4 separate regions of the Homo sapiens genome follow, and all the other regions are linked to region 2. The links are contacts of gene promoters, found by promoter capture Hi-C in blood cells and fetal thymus (Javierre and others, 2016). All regions are on one chromosome and are shown on one strand. The core of a region is centred on a gene start or on the middle of the fragment in contact, and the rest is flanking DNA. Distances in the headings are between cores, read along the strand shown.

Region 1 (2,700 bases), core at 168-2,667, 130 kb before region 2:
TGCTCCTCTGCGCCAGGGCGATGCCTGTGGCTGCCCTCGAATCTCGGGAAGCCCGTCCACCAAGGCCCGTCGGGCTTCCACAGGCCCCTGCACCTCTGTCACACACCTGGCACTGGTCCTCATGGCCGTGCTGTCGGAGTCCCCGCACCTGGGCCTGTGCACACCTGGGTGACAATGGAGGCCCGCACACCCGCACCCACCCCAAAGTCACTGACAGGCTTACTCCCAGCCAGCCCCTCACCCCCTCCACAGCCCCAGGCCTGGGGCTCCGTTTACTGCCGTGTCTAGACAAAGGCATAAAATTTAATGTCCCCGTGACAGTCGGGCGCTCGGACTGCCCTGGTGACACCGCAGGCCCCACCGATCCGGGAAAGCGTTGAACTCTGCACTCCCACCCCTGCCCCCACCCAGCACCCGCCGCCCAGGATCCCCACAGCCACACACAGGACACCCCCACCCCTCGGAGCTCTGACAGGTCGCGAGGAGGGTGCCTTGAGGGTCCTCAGCCCATGCCCCTGCCTCCAAGCCTCCCCGCGCTCTGGGTCCCACCGGGACACTCACCCGGTTTTCACGTCCACTGGATCTACACGTCTGACCCAGGAAGCCCTCTCTGGGCCCATTCCAGGCCCACCTGGGCCTCCCCTAGCTGCAGCCGCAGCCTGAGAATTTCCTCCCTCTCCGCGCGTGGCGGGGCCAAATAAATAGCGGGGGAGCCACGGCGCCGCTCACCCTTTCCGGCCGTGCCTCCAGCCCCTCCGCCCCACTACGCTGTCGCTCGATCCTCAGTCACTTGGCAGATGCGGGCCGAGGGGCTCTGCGCTGGCGAAGGGACGGACTCCAGCCCCTAGCGGAGCCCCTACCCCGGCAAGCCAGAGCCCGGCCCGGCCACCTCTCCGTAGGGACCTGGCCCCAGGCCCACCTGTCCTGGGTCTCCTGGGCCCCGGCCGAGGCCCCTCCTCCCCCCACGCCCCGCGGCTCAGACCTGGCACAGACTCTGGGGCCTCCAGGCCCTTCACTGCCCGGGCCCCGCAAGGACCCTCGCCCCATAACCACCCCTCGGAGCCCCCGGGAGGAGGGGCGGGAGGGGGCTGCTGTGCTCCCGCCGCGGGCCGGTGCAGAGCTTGGGCCGCTCCCAGCAGGCTGCGTCTCTGCTTGTCCCCCCGAGGCTTCCCCACGCAGGGCCGGGTCCCCGTCACCCCGCCGGCCCCAGGCCTCACCCCTGCCGCATCGGCCCCCGCCCCACCCCACAGTCCCCACGGCCCAGAGGTGCAGGGTCGCCCAGGCCCGCCGCCCCCTCCGCGGACGCAGCCGCGCACCCAGCCAGTCCCGCCCGCGCCCGCGCCTACCCCGCCGCCCGCAGATGCTGCGCCGCTCCCGGGCCCGCCCGCCCAGCCTCTGCCGCCACTGCCGGGGCCGCGCCGGCTCCTCCCGCCGCGCCCCTCCCCCGCCCGCGCGGCACCGCCCCCGACCCAGAGGCCCCGCCCCGCGCCCCTCGGCCCGCGAGCCCCGCCGGACCTGGGGACCTGGGAGCGCGGGGGTGCCGGTGCCCCGCCCCCTCCGCAGCGCCGGTTGCCACGGCGACAGCACCGCGCGGCGGCGCGCAGGACTGGTGGCTCTGGGGAGCGGGGCGCCCTCGCGCACCCCCAGGCGCGGAGTCCCGTCTCCACCCTCCTCACCCACCGCCCAGAATCCCAGGGTCCCGCCCAGTGCCCCCCGCGCCCTGAAACTCCGCTGCCGCCCCCTAGAGCGACCCCACTCAGCCGGACAGGCGCCCACCGGCCCAGGAGCTGACAGGGATGTAGGCGCGGGGCTGGCCTGGCCGCCGGGGCCCTCCGCGCCACCCTCTGTCCTCTTTGGGGAGAAACCCAGCCTTCCCAGGTTTCTTCTCAGGGCAGAGGAAAGGAATGATGAGCGGCCCCCACCTTCTTCTCCAGCCCGTCCAGGAGGCAAGCTAGGGTTTGGGGACTTGGGCTTCATTTTGTCACTGAGGTGGCACTAAGCCCCTCCCCCCACATCCTGTCCATCCCGTGTGAGCCAGAGAAGAACCCGAGGGCACCTTCTGCCTGCCTGCCCTCCTTCCCAGAACTGCTGTGACTTCCCTCTGACATAGGAGGAGACTGAGGGTCAGAGAGGTAAAGGGACACCAGATTTGGTGGAAAGACCAGAATTTGAGGCACCACCCAACTGGTAGTGAACTTCCAGATTCTCTTCCCGTATCCCCGGGCCTGGACTCAACACGGCCTGAAAGCCAGAAGAGGACAGAGAGCTCCAGAAGTTCTCTAGTCCTGGCACAAGGGGAGGAAAGAAAAAGGTCGCCTAATGCTCCCAGGGTGCAGGAGAATGCCCGGGGGGATGTTAGGGTTTGGGAGGATGGGGTTTTTTGGTAGTGGTTGTTTTTTTACTCTTCTCCATTCTCTGATGCCCCAGCCCCTAGGTATCCCACCAAAGCCATGACCAAGGCATAGGGTTTACAAGCACCTAAAACGCTGAGGCAGAAGAGCCTTCCTTTCCAGCCCCAGGAGATGTGGTCCCCTGTCGCTGGAGAGATGGTGGGCAGGGAGAAGCAGTAGAAAGCAATCCATGGGCTGGGCGTGGTGGCTCACACCTGTAATTCCAGCACTTTGGGAGGCCGATGTGGGCGGATTACCTGAGGTCGGGAGTTCGAGACCAGCCTGGCCAACATGGTGAAACCCCCATCTC
Region 2 (2,700 bases), core at 76-2,575:
TGGGAGGACACCACCCCCCCTGGGGACCTTGCTTTCCCTCCCGCTTCTTGCCACCTTCAGCCTGGGGTGGGAGGCACTGGGGAGAGCTAAGGGAAGTGTGTTGCCTTGCCTCCTTCCTGGCCTTGGAAGACCTCTCTACAGAGCCCAGCGGCCCACGGTTCTGGAAGCAAGAAGGGTGCAGGTCCACCTTGGTGCTCGTCCAGGGCCATGGGGAAGAGAGCCTCCTGAGTCCAGCCATCTGTTTCTCATCAGTCCCCACTCAGCCCTCCCCTGAGGCTGCTCATCACGACCAGCCTGGAGTTTTCAGAGACAGCGGCCTCAGGCGGGCTGGGGACAGGAGAGTAGCCTCGGCCAGGGTTTCCTTCCGCTTACCCAGTCCTGAGTCTGCAGTCCCTGCTGAACGCTGCTCTGGATACTGGGCTGGCCCCAGGCTGCTATCAGGCCCAGTGGGGGCCGCCTGTGCTCTTGGGAGAGGTGCGACTCCAGCTTCTTCCCCCGGGGGGACAGTTTCCTGCTGTCCATCTCTAGCCCTAGTAGGCTGCTTGTCCACACCTCTGAGATCTGGGGGTAGGAGCAGGGGGAGGTGGGGCGGGGCCCACAAGGCCACCCACGTGCCCACCAATACCTGAGTCCCTGGGGGCAGATGGTGGCAGTATCGCGGTCTGCTAGGGTCACCTTCCAGCCAAAGGTCAGGCATCACTGACCCCTCTGGGTGGAGTGGATCCCCCAGCTCCCGCCGCAGCTCTTCTCCACACCAGCCTCCCGAACTGTCCTCTCTGCCCCTGCCGACCCCACCCCGGGAGCCTGGAAAGCCTTCGGCAGCCTGCTGCACGGACTCCACGCCTCTGCCAGCCTTCTCAAACGTTCCAGGGGCATCAGCCCTCAGCCAGCACTGCGGGCACGCTCTCAGGGCCCGGCCTTGCTACGCCCGGGGCGAAGGAAAGGCCCAGAGCTCTTGCCACAGCCCCGCTTCCGACCCTGAGACCTCCCCTCCACGCGGCCCAGGCCTCGCCCCAGGCCCAGCCCGGAGCCCTTACGTGCCCGCCCTCTCCGGTGGGGAGGCGGGGTCTGCGCGGCCGGGGTCCGCGGAGGGACGGGGGAAGAAGGCTCAGGACACACGCTGGAGGCCGTGGGCACTCTGGGGTTCGGCGGGGGGGCGGGGTACACGGGAACGGCGGTCGGAGGTGGGGGGTACGTGGGCACCCGGAGACAGAAGGAGGGACAGACCCGCCGCGGATGGAGAGGCCACAGGGGGCCGCTGGAGTACACCGCGGCTTGAGGGGGCCCAAGGGGCCGGCGCCTCGCTCCAGAACGTCCGCTACGGCAAGCCCCGCCCCCACCGGTTCCGCTTCCGGTCTGCGCCGCGCCTGCGTTCTGGGCTCCGTTGCGGCGGGTGGGGGATGGGCGCGGTCTGGGGGTCCCCGGCGCATATCCGGGTCTATGGCCGCTACCGCCCCACGGGCCCTTCCGGGCGTCGGCCTCCGGGGTCTCCCGAAGCACAGACCTGAACTTGGGGTTTGTCGGCCAGAGCCCCTTTCGGCCCTGCGCCCTTCAAGCGGCGCGATGCCGCTGAGCCCCGGGCCACCTCCGCGCGCGCGGGGCCGCAGGGCTGGGGCGGGGCGACCCAGGACGGGGCGCGCGGGCGGGAGGGAGGCGCTGCTCCGCCGCGTGCTCCCAAGGGGTGGACGGCCGAGAGAATCACACTGCAGGCGGGGGCCGGCCCCTCCAGGTTTATTAGTGTTGCATCAGCACCTTGAAATAGTCCACACGGTCACATACGTGACATTAGAATCCGTTCCCCAAAAAGCTATTTACATTAATCCAGGGTTTCATTAAAAAAAACTAGCAACACATACATCCTAGAAACCAAACAATGCACAATGAACCGCATGGGGGTCTGCAGAAACTACAGTGGTGCTTCTTTGGCCCACAGGGTCAGATTCCAGAGGTGCCCAGCAAGCCCAGCTCTCAGTCCCCTACAGGCCACACACCCGCGGACGGCAGGACAGGTCTCGGGGAGGGGGCGGCCTGGCCCTCGGAAGAAGTGGCCTGGTCATTTTCATGAGGAATTCATTCCCGGAGGAAGGCGAGAGGCACTCAGGTCTTTCCATCTGGGAATGAGGACAGTGTGGCAAGGCTGCCAGTACCCTGCAGAGACACCCCCAGCTCTCACCCAGAGGCCCCTCTCCTGCCCCAGCTCTGGCCGAGGCACTGAACCAGGACACTGGCTTGCATGCCCAGAGACAGTGGCCAAGGGGACCAACATGGAAGAGGAAGGCAGCAGACCAGATTGCAGGGCGGGACTGGCCCACAGCTGGCCTGGGTGAGGGTGGGGTCTGTCTACGTAATAGTGGACAGTGGCCACCAGGCCTGAGGGGTGCCTCGGTGGTGACTGGTGGCTTAACCTTTGAGACTGATGGGGCTGAGCCCTAGCTCTACAAGGGGCTGCCTCCTGTCCTGTGAGGCCAGTCCAGGGCCAGGTTCTCGGGGGGTGTGCACACCTCACACACACATCCCCCGCCCTTACCGCACTGGCTGTCAGATGGCTTTGGTTTCTAGTTGTCCTTGGTGGGACAGAGTGCTCCTCCATGCACCCTCAGAACAGCTCTGTGAGGTAGGCAGGGAAAATGCGACCATCCTGTGTAACCAGTGGGAAAACCGAGGCACAGAGGGCTGGCATGGCCCAGGTCTTGTCTGCCC
Region 3 (2,710 bases), core at 130-2,629, 150 kb before region 2:
ACATGTGCCATGTCACCGGGCTAATTTTTATTTTTTTGTAGTGACAGGGTCTCACTAAGTTCCCAAGACTTGTCTTCAACTCCTAGTCTCAAAGGATCCTCCCACCTTGACCTCCCAAAGTGCTGGGATTATGGGCATGAGCCACCATGCCCAGCCTACAATCCAGGGGTAAGGCCATTCCAAAGCATCCAAGCTGACTATATTGAAATGACCCCAATAGGCCACCTCAAGTATTTACTAGTGATAGCAGACCACCTTACCCACTGGGCAGAAGCTCTCCCCTTCCCACGCGCAACAGCCAGTGATGCAGTTAAAACCCTGTTAGAACACATCATACCCAGGTTCAAACTAACAGAGACCACTGATTCAGACAATGGGACCCACTTTACCGTGCTCATTAAAGGGCTAACCCAAGCACTACAAATAAAGTGGGAATACCATACTCCCTGGCATCCACCCTCACCAGGAAGAGCAGAAAGAATGAACCAGACTCTAAAAACCCACCTACCTAAATTAATTCTAGAAACCCGGTTACCATGACTAAGTGTCTTCCCATGGCCCTATAAGAGTCTGAACTGCTCCCTGAAAAGACATCGGCCTATCCCCTTATGAAATGCTTCATGGGTTGCTTTATTTAAGTTCCACTACTCACCTCCCAACATTTGAGACAAACGATGAGTTTCTTAAAAACTATGTATCCAGTCTGTCTTCTATCCTCTCCTCCCTTGAATTCTCAGTTCAACACCAGCCCCGAGATCACATTCTTATCAGAAGTTGGAAAGGGGAAAAGCTTGAACCCACCTGGAAAGGACCTTATGTGATGCTCCTAACGACTGAGACGGCAGTCAGCCCGCTAAGGAGTAGACCCACCATACCCAGTCAAAAAGGAGTCTCCCTCTCCAAAGTCACGGACCTTCATCCCAGGACCAACCCCCACCAGAGTAACGTGAAAGAAAAAAGCCTAATTGGCCTGTCCGCATTTCCTCTTCTCTTTCCCTTAGCTACCCCACATCTCATTATTAATGTAACCACGGCAAAGTCACCCCAAATCATTACTTTTGATGCTTGTCTTGTTACACCTTGCGGAGACTTGGGACGTCAAACGCAGCTCTCTACTTCAGAAAAATGTCTTTGCGAAAAAAAATTACCTTTTTCGTGAATCACTGACATAATGAAAAACAACATGAAGCACAAGTTATCTTGATGGCACACAAAAATCCTTGTTTTTCCTAAGCCAATTACTTAAAACGTAAAAAAAAAAAACCTTCCGGCCTCCGCACCCAGGCCTGGGGGGCGGCGGGGCCGCGTATGGAGCCCCCCACCTCCCGGAGCTGCCAGCATGGCCAGCACCACCGCCCCGCTACACACAGGTACCCCTAGGATGGCGTGAGCACTCCCCCGGCGATGGACCCACCTGTGACGCTCTGGCACTTTCTGCTGCAGCTGAGAGCAAGGCAACGGCCACAGCTCCTGGACTTCATGGGATGGTGGTGGTTGCAGAGGAAGGTGGCCTAGCCGTGGGGGCGACGCAAGAACAAGACCAACGTGAATTACGACAAGCTCAGGCGGGCCTTGCCGTACTACTGTGTCTGGAATTGGTCGGTTCTTGATCTCACTGACTTCAACAACGAAGCCGCGGACCCTCGCAGTGAGTGCTACAGTTCTTAATAGGCGGCATGTCCCGCCGTTTGTTCCCTCATGTTCCGAGTTTTTGTTTTTTTTTTTCTTCTGGTGGGTTTGTGGTCTCGGTGGTTCAAGACTGAAGCTGCAGACCTTCGTGGTGAGTGTTAGAGCTTTTAAGGCACCGCGTCTAGAGTTGTTTGTTCTTCCTGGTGGGTTGGGGGTCTCGCTGGTTTCAGAAATGAAGCTACAGACCTTTACCATGAGTGTCACAGCTCACAAAGGCACTGTAAATGCAAAAACGAAGCAGTAACAAGATTTATTACAAACAGTGAAAAACAAAGCTTTCCCCTATAGAAGACGACCCTAACGGGTTGCCGCTGCTGGCTCAGGCAGCCTGCCTTTATTCCCTTATCTGGCCCCACCCACATCCTGCTGATTGGTCCATTTTACAGAGAGCCGATTGGTCTGTTTTACAGGGAGCTGATTGGTCCGTTTTGACAGGGTGCTGATTGGTGTGTTTACAATCCCTGAGCTAGACACAAAAGTTCTCCACGTCCCCACTAGATTAGCTAGATACAGAGTGTCAATTGGTGTATTTACAAACCCTGAGCTAGACACAGTGCTCATTGGTGCATTTACAAACCTTGAGCTAGATACAGAGTGCTGATTGGTGCATTCACAGTCCCTTAGCTAGACATAAAGATTCTCCAAGTCCCCACCAGATTAGCTAGACACAGAGCGCTGATTGGTGCATTTACAACTCTTGAGCTAGATACAGAGTGCTGATTGGTGTATTTACAATCCCTTAGCTAGACATAAAGATTCTCCAAGTCCCCACCAGATTAACTAGATACAGAGTGCCGATTGGTGCATCCGCAAACCCTGAGCTAGACACAGGGTGCTGATTGGTGGGTTTACAAACCTTGAGCTAGATACAGAGTGCTGATTGGTGTATTTACAATCCCTTAGCTAGACATACAGGTTCTCCAAGTCCCCACCAGATTAACTAGATACAGCGTGCCAACTGGTGCATCCACAAACCCTGAGCTAGGCACAGGGTGCTGATTGGTGTGTTTACAAACCTTGA
Region 4 (2,700 bases), core at 20-2,519, 150 kb after region 2:
CGGCTCTGGGACAGCAGGACGCAGGCGTTCTTGGCTTCCAAACTTGTCTCCAGAAAGTTGACACAGGCTTTTGCCAATGCTGGGACGATGTACTTCTTAGCAGCGTACAGAGTGGCCAGCACCGTGTCGGCTTCCAGATCGATCTCATCACTGTACATGTACCTAGGCGAGGCAGGGCCCGCGTCAGGGGCTGGCTCCCAAGCACCCATCGCGGGGCTGGGCCTGGGAGAGGAGTCCATCAGCTCCTGTGTGCTTCCCTTCAGAAGCCTCCGGAGGCCGCCTAAAACGGACCCACCCGTCCCTCCCCAGTAGAGTGGACTTACTTTAAGAGGATCAGAAAGGCTGCGGGCTCCACGTCTGGAATGTGAATTTCAGATTTGACTTCCGCCAGGTCTCCGTAGAACATGGCATAGAAGACGGAGCTGCCGACAGCCAAGACGTACTGGGAGGAGAAAGCGCCGCCGTGAGCCTGGCTCTCCCGCAGGCTGCGTGTCAGCCACACGGCGGACGGGGCGGACGGGGCACGCGTTCCGAGAGGGGCCGCCGCTACCCACCTTGTGGGCGGGCACCGTCCTGGTCGCCCCCGGGGGCCCCACGACGAAGTGCACGTCGGCCATGAGCTCGTTGTTGAACATGAGCGCGTTCCTGCAAAGGTAGAGGCACGGGCTGGGGGCGTGGGCGCGCGCGGGCGCGGGGGCCGCGGGGCACGGGCTCACCTCTCGCGCAGCGTGGGGCGGCAGCACCGCCAGCCGGGGCTCTCCTGGTGGTTGTTGCCGAGTGTGGGCGGCGCGGGCGCGGGCGGCGGCGGCGCTGGCGCGGGGGCGCTGGGCGGGCTGCGCGGCCCGGCCTTCCTGCCCACGGCGGCGCCGGCGTTGCTGTTGGCTAGGTCCGCGGCCGCGGCGCTGGCGGGAGCGTAGAGTTCCGCCGCCATCTTCGCGGGCGGGGCGGCGGGGGCAGCCTCGGCGCCTGTGGACGCCGCGCCCCGCGCCCTCGCGCCGCGCCGGGGCCTCGGGAGCGGCTCTGCAAGCAAAAGCAAGGAGGTCAGGCACTGAGCGACGCGGCCGTGCAGGCAGGCTAGGGGCAGCAGCATGGGCGGCGGCGGCGCTGTGACCCGCGGGGCTGCCACCCGCTCCCCTGCCACCCCCGCCCCTGCGACCCTGCCCGAGCCCAGCCTAGCGCAGCCCGGCCAGGCCCGGCCGCGGGGGGCGCCGTCCCGCCCGCCCGCCCGCCCGAGCCCGTACCCGCCGCGGCGCCGGTGCGTCACGCTGCGTCAGGGCCGCGCCCCGCGCGACGTCGCTGCCTCGCGGCCCCGCCCCCAGGCCCGACATCCTCGAAGCTGCTCGAGCTTCTGCCCAGCAACCGGCGCGAGCCGCGCGCTGTGCAGAGGTAGCCGTGGAAGGCGGCTCCCGGCGCTGGCAGGCGGCCGCCCCCAGACCCGCAGTGCCATGCGCAGGTGCTTGCGCCCGTTCTTCAGTTAGCGATCTTTTGGTTAGGAACGCAGGTGGACCTGCTTGTTTGGCCATTTGCATTCCGGAGTCTGCCTCTGGCCGCGGCCTGTGGGATGGTCGTTGGGCTTCCTCGTTCGTTCAGATGCTTCGCGATTTAGCTTGCTACGGACGCCAGCAGCCAGCGCTTGCAGAGAGCGCGGTCCACTCTGCTCTGAGGGCTTTACAGGGGCAGGCGCTGCTATTTCCCGGCATTTTCCTCGAGGAAATAGGCACAGAGAGGTTAGTCGCGCGCTGAAGGTCACACAGCCGGCGGGTGGGCAAGTCAGGATCTGGCCCTGGGCCTGCAGCCCTGGAGCTTGGGCCCCAGGGCGCGCCCTGCCTCTGTGGCTCTGCCTGTGGATCGCAGTCGCAGGCTCGCTCCTTGTGGGGCCTCTAGCCTCCCGGCCTGGGGCTAATCCTGGGAGGTGCGTGGCATGGGGCACTGGCTTTGCTGATGAGGAGACCAGACTTCAGAGGCCGTGTCACCTGGCCTGGGCCGCACAGCTGGTGCATGCCAAGCTCGCGTGCAGACGAAGCTCCAGAGGCCTGGCTGTCAGGAGGGTTCCTCCCCGAGGACACACACGCAACCTCCTGGACCGCCAGGCTTTAGACTTTTAAAACTTCCATATGCAGGAAACCCCACAGGACGCAGCCAGCATCTCGGGTCATGGGTGCACCTGTCACCGCAGTCCTGGGCTAAACAGTGAACAGGAGCTCTGTGTCTCTGTGGTCGTTACAGTTGTAGTGAATGTTCCCTGGGAGAGTCCTCTTCAGAAGATATTTGCGGTATTTTCAACAAAGGACTCTCCAGGATGGAGGAGCAACTACAAGTCAGGAAGGAAAAGGCTGACAACCCAGTTTTTTAAAAAACGGGCAAAGGACGTGAACAGACACCATGCAATGGCCCAGAGTGCACAAATCATCATTTCTCCCAGGAATGGGGTGCCCGAGCCCCCAGGCGGCTGAACTTGAGACTTGTCACGTAGTGTTGGTGGAATGCAGAGCAGCTGGAGATCACCTGCTGCAGGTGGGTGCGTAACTCCGCACGGCCAAGCCGTTTGGAAAGCTGTAGCATATGCATGAGAGTCCGGAAAGTTCCGAGAGAAAGTGTGTGGATGCACCCGCCAAGGACACACCCACCGAGGCCACAGCTGCGATTTCATAGTGTGGGACCCCACTGGCAAAGACACGCTGGCTGCTGTGGCCGTGGTTT

Evidence for each region. The method cuts DNA at HindIII sites, captures the fragments that hold promoters and counts their contacts. A CHiCAGO score of 5 or more calls a contact.
Region 1: the fragment with the promoter of TMEM121 here is called in contact with the fragment with the promoter of TEX22 in region 2 in 2 of 17 cell types (total CD8 T cells and erythroblasts); the score reaches 5.5 in total CD8 T cells.
Region 3: a contact is called between a fragment that was not itself captured here and the fragment with the promoter of TEX22 in region 2, in 1 of 17 cell types (total CD8 T cells). The highest score is 5.6, in total CD8 T cells.
Region 4: a contact is called between the fragment with the promoter of BTBD6 here and the fragment with the promoter of TEX22 in region 2, in 6 of 17 cell types (monocytes, erythroblasts, endothelial precursors and 3 more). The highest score is 8.6, in monocytes.

Annotation. Positions count from the first base shown.
Region 1 is chr14:105,525,300-105,527,999 of GRCh38, reverse strand. It overlaps TMEM121 (transmembrane protein 121), which reads right to left and starts at 1,417. Exons shown (of 2, transcript NM_025268.4): 1 at 1,347-1,417. The HindIII fragment of the contact is 18,865 bases long and covers 1-2,700 here.
Region 2 is chr14:105,397,163-105,399,862 of GRCh38, reverse strand. TEX22 (testis expressed 22) reads right to left here and starts at 1,325. Exons shown (of 4, transcript NM_001195082.2): 1 at 1,228-1,325; 2 at 373-561. The coding sequence starts at 522. PACS2 (phosphofurin acidic cluster sorting protein 2) reads right to left here. Exons shown (of 25, transcript NM_001100913.3): 25 at 1,716-2,700. RefSeq lists enhancers at 214-724, 725-1,235 and a silencer at 903-1,812. The HindIII fragment of the contact is 23,339 bases long and covers 1-2,700 here.
Region 3 is chr14:105,548,387-105,551,096 of GRCh38, reverse strand. LOC105370698 (a long non-coding RNA gene) reads right to left here. Exons shown (of 4, transcript XR_001750918.2): 2 at 1,415-1,907. It also overlaps the pseudogene ELK2BP. Among named protein-coding and RNA genes, the nearest start is that of TMEM121, 23 kb to the right of the region's middle. The HindIII fragment of the contact is 1,174 bases long and covers 793-1,966 here.
Region 4 is chr14:105,247,102-105,249,801 of GRCh38, reverse strand. It overlaps BTBD6 (BTB domain containing 6), which reads right to left and starts at 1,269. Exons shown (of 4, transcript NM_001387567.1): 1 at 717-1,269; 2 at 555-645; 3 at 324-442; 4 at 1-162. The coding sequence starts at 1,090. All of the region lies in intron 5 of BRF1 (BRF1 general transcription factor IIIB subunit), which reads left to right. RefSeq lists enhancers at 1-61, 853-1,643 and silencers at 668-717, 918-1,477. The HindIII fragment of the contact is 26,340 bases long and covers 1-2,700 here.